4 separate regions of the Homo sapiens genome follow, and regions 1, 2 and 4 are each linked to region 3. Evidence: promoter capture Hi-C in 16 types of primary human blood cells and fetal thymus (Javierre and others, 2016). All regions are on one chromosome and are shown on one strand. The core of a region is centred on a gene start or on the middle of the fragment in contact, and the rest is flanking DNA. Distances in the headings are between cores, read along the strand shown. Region 1 overlaps TSPAN18 (tetraspanin 18). Region 2 has its middle 26 kb from the start of ALX4. Region 3 holds the start of CD82-AS1 (CD82 antisense RNA 1). Region 4 overlaps TSPAN18 (tetraspanin 18).

The links. The method cuts DNA at HindIII sites, captures the fragments that hold promoters and counts their contacts. A CHiCAGO score of 5 or more calls a contact.
Region 1: a contact is called between a fragment that was not itself captured here and the fragment with the promoter of CD82-AS1 in region 3, in 1 of 17 cell types (megakaryocytes). The highest score is 5.4, in megakaryocytes.
Region 2: a fragment that was not itself captured here is called in contact with the fragment with the promoter of CD82-AS1 in region 3 in 1 of 17 cell types (total B cells); the score reaches 5.1 in total B cells.
Region 4: a contact is called between a fragment that was not itself captured here and the fragment with the promoter of CD82-AS1 in region 3, in 9 of 17 cell types (total CD4 T cells, naive CD4 T cells, megakaryocytes and 6 more). The highest score is 10.7, in total CD4 T cells.

What each region holds. Positions count from the first base shown.
Region 1 is chr11:44,872,541-44,875,677 of GRCh38, reverse strand. The region is part of intron 3 of TSPAN18 (tetraspanin 18); the gene reads right to left. Among named protein-coding and RNA genes, the nearest start is that of TP53I11, 77 kb to the left of the region's middle. The HindIII fragment of the contact is 2,651 bases long and covers 352-3,002 here.
Region 2 is chr11:44,334,576-44,337,988 of GRCh38, reverse strand. No RefSeq gene overlaps it. Among named protein-coding and RNA genes, the nearest start is that of ALX4, 26 kb to the right of the region's middle. RefSeq lists an enhancer at 2,848-3,413. The HindIII fragment of the contact is 1,953 bases long and covers 1,146-3,098 here.
Region 3 is chr11:44,603,895-44,607,279 of GRCh38, reverse strand. It overlaps CD82-AS1 (CD82 antisense RNA 1), which reads left to right and starts at 1,943. Exons shown (of 2, transcript NR_182290.1): 1 at 1,943-2,262; 2 at 2,550-2,772. It overlaps CD82 (CD82 molecule), which reads right to left. Exons shown (of 10, transcript NM_002231.4): 5 at 2,098-2,222; 6 at 1,851-1,925. The HindIII fragment of the contact is 7,514 bases long and covers 1-2,576 here.
Region 4 is chr11:44,898,182-44,901,452 of GRCh38, reverse strand. All of the region lies in intron 3 of TSPAN18 (tetraspanin 18), which reads right to left. It overlaps LOC124902664 (a long non-coding RNA gene), which reads left to right. Exons shown (of 3, transcript XR_007062659.1): 3 at 135-315. Among named protein-coding and RNA genes, the nearest start is that of TP53I11, 51 kb to the left of the region's middle. The HindIII fragment of the contact is 1,915 bases long and covers 379-2,293 here.

The sequences.
Region 1 (3,137 bases), core at 428-2,927, 270 kb before region 3:
TTGAGTCTGGATCAATGTGGGGACAATAAGCTCGACTCCCAAGGTAGTTACAAGGATTTGATGAGATAATTTTGCACAGGGCAAGTGCTCTGCACATAATTACGTGCTGAATGCTGTAACATCTTCTCAATTCCATTTCGTAATGAGAGCAAGCACTGTGAATTGGGTTGTGCAACCAGCTAGGATGAGGGAAGGTCGGTAGGTAAGATTTCCTGGTGACCTGGAGGGAGGTGGTAAATCCCTCGGCAGCCCCTAGCCTCCGAAGCCCCAAGGCCCAGACTTGCTCCCAGCCAGAGAGTATTGTTTGAGGATAAATATTATTTTATGCTCTAGCTTAATCCAAACCAAGCTTATCTTTCCCACCGAAATGCCCACAACCCAGAGAAAGCTAAGCCCTCTGCTGCTTGCCTAATTGCAGGCTTAGAGGTCTGGTTGGGGACACCAGCTCTCTGGAAAAGCCTGGTAAATGGTCTGGTATTTGGCAGTGGCATCAGAGAAGCTGGCTGTGAGTTGGGCTGTCTGGTGTTCTAGGCCCACATGGGCTGGGAGGGCCCCACGGGGGAGAATGTACCTCTGCAAGGGGCTGGTCCAAGGCCTCTCACTCTTGCATGGAGCTGCTGCTCCAGCCCTGGGGAAGATGTAACTACGGGGGAGCAGGGGAAGTGGGTCTTGCCCCCTCTGCCCCCAATTTAATGCTGATTCTCACTTGGTTGGAAAAGCAAAATGGGTCTGTGGGCTGCGGGACCCCTCCTTCTCTCCAGTTATGTCTGTTTCCGTCCCTCCTCTTCCAGTGGAATTCTCTGAAAAAGGGTTGCTAAAGGGAGGAGCGTGGTCTCAGCAGGCTCCATGCTGTTGAGGGCTGGAAGATCCTCAAATGGATCAGGAGCCAGCCTGGGTGGAACCCAGCCCCAGCCTCTCCTCACAGCTTCCCCACTGGGAACTGCCAGGCCCGGCCAGCCATAGACCTGAGGGACAAAGATGTCCCCCTACCCAGGCACCAAGCATGCAATTAGTTCTCCGGCTGGTTCCCATCTCACCATTTTCCTCTTTCTCCCTGGGGTGTTTTTAGAAGGATACCAGGGAAGAGAGGTGATTAGTGCCAGGCTTTGCAATCAAGATAGACTCGGGCATGAATCCTTGCTCTGTGACTTGGGACAGCTGAGTTGCCTTCTCTGTGCCTCAGTTTGCTTGTCTGTAAAATGGGATTGCTATAGTACTATCTCACAGTGTTAGAGGGAGGGCTAAATGACATCGAGTGCCTGGCACAGGGAGTGATCATTCTGGCTCTTCCAAGGGTAGAAGAGGGAGGTTTTGCCCAGAGGCAAAGGCACAAAGACCATTGACTATTATGGGGCCAGATGGGCCCTCCACTTGAGACCCACCCTTTTCCCCATGCCCAGGTCACCTGGCTGCCATCTCTGAATCAGGCGGAAGAGGTGGAGGTGAAACTAACATTGGTTACTGTATGTCCCATACCGTGCTAGGCCCATCTCCTTTTTACAGATGAGGAAATTGAAGCTCAGTGGTGTGAAGGAGTTTGCCCAGGAGTGCACGGCTCCATGGTGGAGCAGGAATGTGTCCTCATGCTTTTATACAGGGGTCTTTCCCACCCCACTCAACTCCTGAAGCCCCCTAAGAAACAGATGTAGGGCCATTCCCAGGCTGCGGGTGCTGGGTCCAAGGTGGGGACAGGTGAAGCCACCCAGCTGGCCTGGAGAGGCAGAGCTGGAACAAACCTAGCTATGCCAGCCTGGGAGGGCCCAGATCATATAAGCCCCCTGAGGGGCCAATCCTCATGTCTGTAGGTCCAGGAATGCCAGCTCCCTTCACAGATAACAGCTCCCTCTGGGCTCTGCCCCATGCTCTGCTCAGAGGGCTCTGAGGACCAGTGCCTCTGTATCCAGGTAACAGGCACATCCTAAGTCCTCTTCAAGTCACATGCCTACAAGTCAGGACAGCACTCCCCACAGACCTCCTCGAGGTGGCTCATTTTCAGCTTCCCAGAAGGAAATAAACCCTAAGGAGTGCAGACCCCTCAGCTTCCCCAGGCCTTGGAGGGACTGGGCTTTCAGCCACATCTCCTTAGAATTTCCTCCTTAGACTTAAGCCCTGTAAAATGCATCACTGGGTACAGTCCCTTCCATGCTGCTTTCTTTGTCCCCAGTCAAGGGGTTTGTCTGCTATGAGTTTGCATATTGTTCTTTCTGCAGCCACAAGAATAGGGCCACAGAACCCTGGAGCTGCCATGCAATCTCTGGGGTTGTCACAGAATCCCCAGGGTCCAAAATGTCTGCAACTTCCTAAAGCTGCTGTGGCATTCCTGGGATTATCCAGAATCTCTGGGCTGTCATGGTGTGCCCAGACCACATAGGTCCCTTGAGTGCTGGAAAAAAATCTGGGCCACCATGAAATTCCCTGAACTAACATGGAACCCCCAGGTTGCCACGAAGTGCTGGGCCACCCCAGGGTCTCTAGGCTATGCAGGGCCCCTGTGCTGCCAAGGGACCACTGGAATATCTTAGAATGGAAATTTTTGGCTGAGTCCTCCAACAACCCACAACCACATACTGTCACCTCCAGCCCCTTATCCAAGCATTTCGACCATCTTCTTCCTGACTTCAGCTGAAACATTCCTACCTCCAGGAAGCCCTCCCTGGTGTCTCTCCAGGCCTGGCTAGGTGCCACAGCCCTAGGTATCCTGGGCTCCATGACAGTTCCCTGGGTCTGCCCTGTCGGAACACTCAGCATGCAGTCCTGCCACTGCCTGGTCATGGATCTATCTCCTCTGAAGCACAGGCACCCTGTGCCCAGGCTGGGCAGGTGGCACTTAATAAATATTACTTAATATTAACTATAATATTATTTAACTGTGTGCTATTAACTTACTAGGCACTTGATGGCTGTGTGACCTTGGGCAAGTTGCTTCACCTCTCTGTGCCTCAGTTCCCTTTTGTATAATAAGGATACTAAGAGTATAGATCTCATAAGGCTGCTGTGAAGCTTCAATAACTTATGTAAAGCATTAAAGCAGAGTCTGGCATATAGTAAGCACAATATAGATACCTGCTATCATTAAATAACATGTGAACTGTATTCATTAGGCTTTCACAGGGTCTAGACTTGCAGCAAGGATGGAA
Region 2 (3,413 bases), core at 873-3,372, 270 kb after region 3:
TAAGCCCTCACTCAGTGACCACAACAAATCATTCCATCTTAAAATGATCAAGTAGGGGGCTAATTGTCCTGAAGAGAGGGGCTCCTGACAACTCCTATCCCATCCACCAGCCAGAAGGAGCATTAACAAAGATGAGAAAAGTATGTTTCAGGCTTGGAAACATAAGCATACATATTAAAAAAAAAAAAAACAGAAAAAGAAAAGAAAATCCAACTGATATCACCGTAGGCTGAAGGAGAAACCTGATCTTGAGATGGAATGGTTAACATTTGGGGTTGTTTGGAGAGAATTGCTCCAAGCTGTTTTTGTTCAAAACGTATAGATTTAAGGTAAGAAGCACTGTGTAGCCTGTACAGGTCACAACCACTTTGGAAGCAAGTTCCCCATTACTTTTCAACTGACTAAGGTAGGGATGAATTTTGTTTTATCTTTCTCTAACTGGGTAGTAGTTTCGTGGATTTTCACTTGGAAGCGCACTAGAAAAATGTTTACTTGTCTTGTTCTTTTTATCACTCTGCCAGCGTTTTCTCCTTTCAGATTATATCTTTCTGGAAGCTCCTTTCTCCCACTTCACTCTTGCCTTCAGGCCAATAAAGCGTTGACCCAGAGCCCCAAGTCTCTCCTAGCCCACTGCTCTCCTAAAGAAAGAACTCGGAGTTTGTGGGAATTCCCCTGTTTTCCTCTTCATGGAAAGGACAATTTTATACACATATATTATATACCTATTGTAATCTGAAGGTTCCCCATGGCGAGCACTTAGGATGTGAGGGACCCCAGTCTGCAAAACTTCTAGCCACAGACAAAATTGTTTGTTTGGATAAAAGTGGAAATAGATGCCTATTTATCTGGGAGGAATTGCATCCATCGTCTTATGGGAAGTATTTGATTTTTAGTAATTATTTGGCAAATCCAAAGAGGGAATTGGGTATCCATTTGAAACTTCTGTTTTCTATCCATTTTGTTAAATGAGTTTCTCTTCCCCTTAAACTCCACATTAAATTGTTTCCCTCAAGGGAAAAAAAAGAAGAAAAAAACAGCATTTTCAACTCTAAAAAGCATAAATACTTCTTTAGAAGAAAATATCAAAGGTATCTTAGGGAGGAAATGAAAATAAATGTGTTATAGAAGGACAGTTTTAAAAAGCTTTTGGGGCTCTGCATTTGAACGGAAAGACTATGGAAACTCGTACTAATAACCAGTTTCCCTGGGGCTGTTCATTTGCAGGGATCGGCTCCTCCAGTCAGCATTTTAAAACCCTTCTTCAAAATATCTGTATTTGTTTCCAACTTCACAAATGGATTGTCACATGCCTTCACCATTTACCAAAAATAAAAAAGAAAGAAAAATTAAAAAGGAGAATGGAGTGTATTTAAACCGGAAAATTTATCTTCAGGTGAAAACTTTGAGGAAAGGAATCTATATTAAGAGTTCTATTTTTAAAGGCAGTGGTCAGGGCAGATTAAAACAGGAATCGGTGACAATAAAATGTCATCAGATTCTTATACTTTTGCTGTACAGAACATCATCAAAGTCACCCCATATGTTAACATGCTTTTTATATATCTTTTGTATGCGGCATCAATTTAATTTTTATCAACAATGACAGTCCCAATCTCCAAATATTTGTGTCAGGGGCAGGAAAGGGATACATACCCCAAAAATACCCTCAAAATTATATACTGATGTCAACACCACTCTTTAGAGCTGTTATGTTTTTGTGGCTTTTCTTTTGTAAAAACATCTTTTCCACAGGCTTTTTGTCCATACCATATCTGTATGATTTTTTTTTTTCTCGCAGTAATGGGGACCACAGCTTTTGGCTACGCCATCAGCAATATCGTTTAATTTATTCTTTCAACCTCAGTGAAGCCATGCTCTTTCTTTTTTGGTTGATCCGTGCTGGAAATGAATTCCACAATTTGCAGTCCCAGGCATCCCTTACCCCATAACAACACAAGATGTGGAAAATGTGCTTAAGATTGAAAATCACATTTTGGAAATCCAAGCGTTTCTCTTTCCAGACTTTTGCTAAGCCGCTTATTGTACAAATCCAGGTATTACTTAACTATCTCTAGGGGTAAAAAATAATAATAATAATAATAATAATGATAAAATAAAGCACGATGTACTATTTATTGTATTTCATTAGATAAACCTCAAAAAAGTAAACATTTTCTCCCCGCGATTCACCCGCTGCCTGTTTCGGATTTTAATGCAATGGGTATGTTTTTTCAGGATCTCGAATATTTATATTTCAAAACTTAAATATCTTTATTTAAACCATACAGCCTCAATCTCCAAAACCCTGGATTTTTAATATTTTGGCGATTGAAATCTGGCATGTTTGAAGGTTTGTCTCTCTGCAGAAGTCTCTTGTTATCCAAAGCAGAAAAAACAAACTAGGGACGGATTACGAACTGCCCAACGCTGGCTGCCAGCACAGCGAAAACACTGCCTCCGACTCCCTCAACGCCCTGCCCTGGGGATAACTACTTTCTTAATAATAAATAGGGAAAATGTAAAATGTTTTCTTTAAATTAAAAATCGAAACGAATTGTTTTAATGAATATTTCTGGTTATGAGGGTAAAGCCTGCCTTCGTGTGTACACTTTCTGAAGAAAAATTTCCTGTGTGGTTTTCCCTGTGAGATCAAAAGGAACTAATTAACTTTTCTATAAGGTAAACAAAACTTTAACTTGAAATATCCCCATGAAGTATGTGGGAAGTGAGCTTTTGTGTGAGTGAAAGCAGGAGGGAGAGAGAGAGGGAGGAAGGGAGAAAAGGGAGGAGAGAGTTGGGTTTAATTTTATATTCAAAATCGTCTCATGCTCAGAAGGTATTGGAAACTCCTTACCAAGAGTCAGCCTTCTTTATCCTTCCCCATTACCAAAATGATATTTAAATCAAAGGCTGAAATGTTGCCAAGTTCAAATCCCTTGTAAGATTAATAGGGCATTGTTCTGTTCATAGAAAATGTGTTCTTCTTAGAGCCCCTTTAAGAAGAACTGGGTGTGTGAAGGACCATTCGGGAAAGAGTGTGGGAAAGGGAAAAATCTGGAAAAGCGGCCCTGGATGGGGGTGGAAGGAAGAGAGAAGCTTCAAGAGGACGGACAACCACTGCCCCACCCCCAGCCAGAAGTAATTGGGGTCAGGGGACCAGGCCTCCAGCTGGAGCCCCATTTCCCCAGGACCTGGCTCATTTACAGAAGAATGAGGAACAGGAGGAGCAGCTCTGAGGGGTCCCTGAAGGTCTTTGAGGTCATGCCCTTCTGGGTACTGACCCCAAGCTGTGCTGAGAGACTGTGGGGAGCTCCTGCCTGCCCCTCCCAGGAGGAGCAGCTGCAGCCGAGGGCTGGTCCCCCTCCCAGGACAGCGAGTCCTTGGCCTGTTTCGGGTGAGCTGCCTGGGTCCAG
Region 3 (3,385 bases), core at 694-3,193:
GTGCCCAAGTTAGCCCTTAGCTACCAAGAGTATCTTGTCTTGTGAAGTTCCATTAAGTTCTAAGTTCTATTAAATGTTATTTGTTGATGTTGATGTTGGTATAGTGTTTTCTCAGTTTCCTTCCAAGAGGGATCTCAGGCAACTTGACCTTCAAGTGGTGAAGGGCAGGAGCCTATCTGGCTGCCGGCTCTGCCACCCTCCCTGGTGGACAAGAACTGGTGGCACTGGAAGCAGGGACCCTAAGGGTCTGCTAGGCCACAGGCCATGTGCAGCAGGGTCTGGGGACGGGTGAACTCAGGACTCGGAGTCAGGGAGCCTAGGCTGTCCTTACTCCTTCATCTGCAGGACGGGGATTCTCCCACGACCTTGAGAGGGCCTAGTGAGGATCTGCGAGAGGAGGAGTGTAACGTGGTCAACACTGTACTTGGTATATGCTGTGCATGGACTCAACTGGAGGGATGGTGGGTGTTAGAGTCACTGTTATCTATGTTGTTATTGCTCTTCATCTCAGAGCATCTGCTTCTCCATCTGTCAACATAAAACCCTGCAGAGCCATTGTGAGGACAAGACGCTGTATGGAAAGTTTCTAGAAGATCCCACGTGCACACAGTAGGTGCTTCTTACGTGATAACTGTGACTCACAATTAACTGGCTCACCCAACAGCCATTCTTGGCTCCTTTCTCTCTTGTGCCTCTGTCTTTAGAGTCTGAAAGTTGGATACTCACATTCTCAGCCTCTTTTGCAACCAGGGGTGGCTTTGTAACCCAGTCTGGGGAAGTCTGTTGGAGGACTTTTTTTTTTTTTTTTTTTTGAGACAGGGTCTCACTCTGTTGCCCCAAGCTCTGTTTCATGGCTCCCTGTAGCCTCAACCTCCTGGCCTCAAGGATCCTCCTGCCTCAGCCTCCTGAGTAGCTGGGACCACAGGTGAACACCACCATGGCTAGCATTTTTAAAAATTTGTTTGTAGAAATGGGGTCTCACCATGTTGCCCAGGCTAGTCTCAGAGCAATCCTCCCACCTCTGCCTCCCTAAGTATTGGGATTACAGTCATGAGCCACTGCGCCTTTTCTGATAAAAGGGATGGCCATGTCTGGCACTGCCCACTTCCCCATCTTCAGGCCACAGCGGCACAGACATCGTGCCTGGTGCTGTGGCAGCCATCTTGGAACCACGAGGTAAGTGTCATAATGCAGGAAAGCCATCCCAGCGAGGATGCTCAACAGCCAGAACCAGGGCCTCTGAGCTTCCAAACCAGACTTCCGGTCAAGTCAACCACAGATGTCCTTCAACTTTAAGCCGCTGTAAGTCTGATTTTCTGTTTCTGAAAGCTGAACATCTCCCCTCGGACACAAGACTGATGTTTTTATTAACGGTCTCCTTCTAAACCTCATTTGTGGGTGAGTGGCATGGATTTAATAGTTGCTAAAGTATCTTAATAATAACAAGAATAACATTTATTGAGTACTTATGGTGCCATGCGCTATGTGTTTCACTCAGATAATCTCGAATAATCTTTGCAACCACTCTGAGAGTTCAGTTTTCTTATTGTTTCCATTTTACAGATGGTGGAACAGGCACATAGAGGCAAGCAGCTTGCCCAAGGCCACACAGCTAGAAAGCAGGGGGGTCAGGCTAAGATCCAGGCCCAGCGGGGACTGCCCACACCTGCCGCCTTCTCTTCTAACGCTCCCCCATTTGATCACAAGGAATAGTGTCCAGGAGGCCGTCCCTGACACCTACTGGATCTGTCTGTGACAACTGGGGGGGTTCCTTGTCCATCCCCCACACTCAGTCAATCACCCCCATGGTTGGTCCAGCCCAGTGAAGAGGGAGGGAGAGAGGGGCTTACCTTGCCCATGTTGAAGTAGAAGAGGGCCCCGGCCGTCACCTGGGCAATGAGGATCAGGAGCAGGAAAGCAAAGTACTGGGGACACAGAGCAGGCACAAAGTCAGCTGAGGGTCCCCGACCAGGTGCACCCAGCCTGCGTGCCCCGAGAGATGCTCTCCACCCGATGTTACGGCCAGCGCCGCGGTCAGGCTGCACTCGGCTGGATGAGAGGAAATGGGCAGGCAGCTGCGGAGGGATCCGTACTCACCAGCCCCAGCAGGCAGCGGACCTCGTTGACGGCGCCGATGCAGCCCAGGAAGCCCATGAGCATAGTGACTGCCCCCACGCCGATGAAGACATAGGCCCCCATCCTAAGCGAGCTGGAGGAGGTTTCTAGGGGGAAGAAGAAGTACAAAATCAGTGGGCACAGCAGGTATAAACACCTGGCCTAACCGTCCAGGTCTTCTTCCGGATCCCCTCTTTGGAGCCAGGGTGTTGGGGTCAGCTGCATTCCCCTGCTGGCTTCTCACTGCCCAACAGGGAACCAGGTCACCCCCATCCCCACTTGTGTCCCTCCCCCAGTAAAATTGCAATCCACACCCTCATCCAGCCTAAGCCCCTTCCCGGCTTTATTTTTTACTTCGTAAGGCTTCTCAGGATTGAATAGACTACATTTCACTGATTCTTCTTGCTCATTGTCTGCTCTCCCCCTCCACCAAGGACCTGAGGTGCATGAGGGCAGAAGCTTCACTTTATTCCTGGGGAACCCCCAGCTCGAACAGCGCCTCTCGCAGTGAGGTGCTGTGCACAGTGAATATCTGCGGAATTGACAGACAAGAGGCTGGCTGGTTCTCCAGGGGCCACTGACATTAAGATTCCAAGCTGATTTTTAACCCGCCTTCCTTCTTGTCCATATAATAACAAACACCAGCCTTTCTTGCCCACTCACTGTGCCTCATGGGCTTTCCACACGCCGTCTCCAACTCTGACATCACCCTGCCTGGCAGGCACTAGCATGGCCATTTCACAGAAGAAAAAAATGAGGCTCAGAAAGGCGAACAGGCAAGGGCCTGAGCTGGAATTTGAAAATATGCAAATCTCCAGTGCCACACTCTTTCCACTGATGCACGGGGCACATGTATTGCTACAGGTGTGCTGCATGTTCATTCGGCCAAGAAATGTTTACTGGGTGCCCACTTCATGCCAGGCACTGTGCCAGTTGCTGGGGATGCAGAAGAGTGACTAACAAGGTCTGACATTTGGGGGTGGGGAGTGGAGACAAAAAGTACACAATACAGGTTTTCTGGTTGTGTTGGGCGCCATGAAGATACCAAAGCTGGCTAACTGCAGAGAACTGCTGGGCTGGGAGAGGGTCAGAATGGGTCGACGAAGGCCAGCCTGAGCCAGTGACATTTGAGCCAAGACATGAATGAAGAAGTCAGCCAAGCAAAGATCTGTAAGAAAAGCATTCCAGGCAGGGAACACAGCAGGTGCAAAGGCCTGAGGAAGGAGGAGCTTGGTTATTTGAAGATTGGAAAGAAGGTGAGAGAACGGAC
Region 4 (3,271 bases), core at 87-2,586, 290 kb before region 3:
ACCCAGGCAGAGCTTCTCTCCAGGGTAGGATCCAGCTTCAGCCGGCTCTGGCTCTTTAGCAATTAAGGGGTGTAATAAATATGGCAGCTCATAAACGGACTACCTGTATTTATTGTGTACCACATTCATTGCAGATTACATCTCATGGCCCGGGCTTGCGGAGTGCTGGGCTCCCAGACAAATGCAATCAAAGGAGACATGTCTCCTGGGAAGAGCCTCCCACAACCTCAAAGGTGAGTCAGGTAGGAAAATAGATGATGTGAGCCTGGGGGCCGGTGAAGAATATGGAGGCCCGGGTTCCAGTTTCAGAGCAGGGTGGATGAGTAAAAAGAGGGCTTTGGTGCCCAACAGGGGATTGTGTCCCAGCTCTGCCAAGCTTAGCTGGTGGGGCAAGTTACTAAACTGCATACAACTGAATTCCTTCTCTGTAAAGTCAGGATAAAAACAATGCCTTCCTCGGCCGGGCGCGGTGGCTCACGCTTGTAATCCCAGCACTTTGGGAGGCTGAGGCGGGCAGATCACCTGAGGTCAGGAGTTTGAGACCAACTTGGCCAACATGGCAAAACCCTGTCTCTACTAAAAATAACAAAAATTAGCTGGGGGTGGTGGCAGGAACCTGTAATCCCAGCAACTCGGGAGGCTGAGGCAGGAGAATTGCTTGAACCCAGGAGGAAGAGGTGGCAGTGAGCCGAGATCATGCCATTGCACTCAGCCTGGGCAACAAGAGTGAAATTCCATCTCAAAAAAAAAAAAAAAAAAAAAAAAAAAAAAAGCCTTCCTCAAGTTGTATGGAAAATACTGAGCACAGGGCTTGGCACATGGTAGCTAATAATAGTAACCACTGGCATACACTGAGTTCTTACTATGTGCCAGGGAACACACACAATTTCATTGAATCCTTGTAAAGCTCTGGGAAGTAGGTAATGTCATTCTATTTTTCAGAGGAGGGAACTGAGGCTCGGAGAGGTGGAATCACTTGTCTAAGGTCACACAGTACAGAAGTGCCTGAGCCAGAATTTGAACCCACGCCTGTCTTAATCTGGGGCCACAACTCCTAATCAGCATTCTCAATGAATGAGAATTCCCTTGCCCCATTCATCCATCCTCCTCCAAAGTGCAGACCTGTCTTCACACCACCTATGCCATTTGATCTCCCATTATTCTCCAGCAGGGACAGCCTCCCAGGCCATCACCCACCGCCAGGCTGAAGCCTAGAGACCAGGGCTTGCCTGCTCCATCCCCTATAGAGGCCTACTGAATGTGGGGACACACCTCCACAGCCAATTGGTCAGACTAGAGTGACAGACACATGGGACCTCCAATCCCTGCCTGGCTGTTAGCTCCACCCATCCATGGATGACTTCTAGAAGTTAACTTCACGGCACAGTTTCCTAACTTACTTCTAAAGGGAGGGAAACCATGGAGAATCTCTGGAGGGTGGGGCGAGAAGAAAATTGAGACTATGAGGTCCAAGAGCTTTGTTATTGCTCAAAAAAGCGGCACTTAGAAAGGAGATGGTGGGCCTGTCTGCTGTGGGACATGATGCCCTCCCTGGGGCCAGTGGTGGGAGGCCCATCAAAGTCTCCCAATTTCCCTGAGCTAAAGGGTCCCTGAAGGGAGAGTAGCAGTGTGGGTGGGGCCTGTAGGGTCAGGTGGGACCCGGCCTATCACTTTCTTGCCTCATGACTATGGGTGAACTACATAACCTTTCCAGGCCTTTGCTTTCATGCCTGCAAAATGGGGACAGGAATGCTGACTTCCTCTAGAAATTGTGCTGAGCATGAAATGGTATCATAGAGGTACAGTCCCTCATACAGCACTTGACACATGGTGGCTCCATCCTGGCTCTGGGCTCTGTTCCTCCCTCCTGCCCCGCCACAAGGTGGCTCCTCCCAGCTGCTCTCCTAGACACCAGGCACATCAGCTTCAGCCTCAGGAGAGGGGAGGACTCTGGGGTGGAGGATTTTGAAGCAGGGAGAGTGACTGTGTTCAATGGTGCTCAAACTGGGTTCCTGAGACTAGCAACATCCTAAAGTTATTTTCAATATTTCAAATAACATCTCAGACATCAACCTCTCACCATGGGCTGACTCAAGGGGCAAGTGTCTTGGGTTTTGGAGCAATTAGACTACCCCCAGGTGGGGACCTTGTTTATTGGGTTGTTCAGAATATCTGGCCACCATGTCTGTATGACTTTGCAGAACAAAAACGAACATGCTATTTGGTGCATAAAATTCTTTAAATCCTGGGGCTCAGAGGGATGAAATGCAGGAGTCAGCATCAGAGGCAAGCTTGACTTAGTGGGAATTCCACTCCCTGTTTGTACCCGGAAAGCACTGGAGAGCAGTTTAGGTGCTGTGGTCTCCCTGTCCTTCCATGTGACGTCTGCCTCAGGATCTGCTCTGTGGATCCTGTGGTCTGAAGGTTCATGTGCCTGTCACAGCAACCCTCATCTGGCCATGGGAAGGTCCTGTGCTTACAGATGGGTGTCTAATACAACATGACCCTCAGATGCAGCCAACTGTTTCGTGTAAAACAAAACCAGGTGTTTAAGGATGCTATGGTTTGAATGTGACACACATTCAAAAGTCATATTGAAACTTAATACCAGATGTAACATAATGAAGAGGTGGGGCCTTTAAGAGGTGATCGGATCTCAAGGGTTCTGCCCTCATGACTGGATCAATCCACTCATGGATTAATGGGTTATCACAGGAGTGGGTTGGTCATCCTGAGAGTGGGTCTGTTATAAAAGCCACTTTGGCATTCTCAGCCCCCTCGCCATGTGATGCCCTGCACCGCCTTAGAACTCTGCAAAGAGTCCCCCGGCAGCAAGATGGCCTTCATCAGGTGCAGCTGCTTGACCTTGGGCTTCCCAGCCTCCAGAACTGTAAGAAATAAATGCCTTTTCTTTATAAATTATCCAGTCTCAGGTGTTCAGTCATAGCAACAGAAAACACACTAAGACAAAGGATTTCAAGGGAACTTCAGGTAAACTTCTGACACTACTGTTTGTGTAAGTGCTGACTTAGATCCAGCTCTTGTGTAACTTACATCACCAGCATATCAATAAAAGAAGTTCTTAATCGTCAAAGGTTGGGAAGCACGATCTAGCCCAATACCCTCATTTTGGAAATGAGAAAACTGAGGCCGAGAGAGGGAAAAGGAGCTTGGCCAAGTTCCAAAACCAATTAATTAGTCATGGATATGAACTTGGAAGCCCAGCCCAGTGCCCTGTGGGTACAGCACATACGCTATGTGCTACTTATTT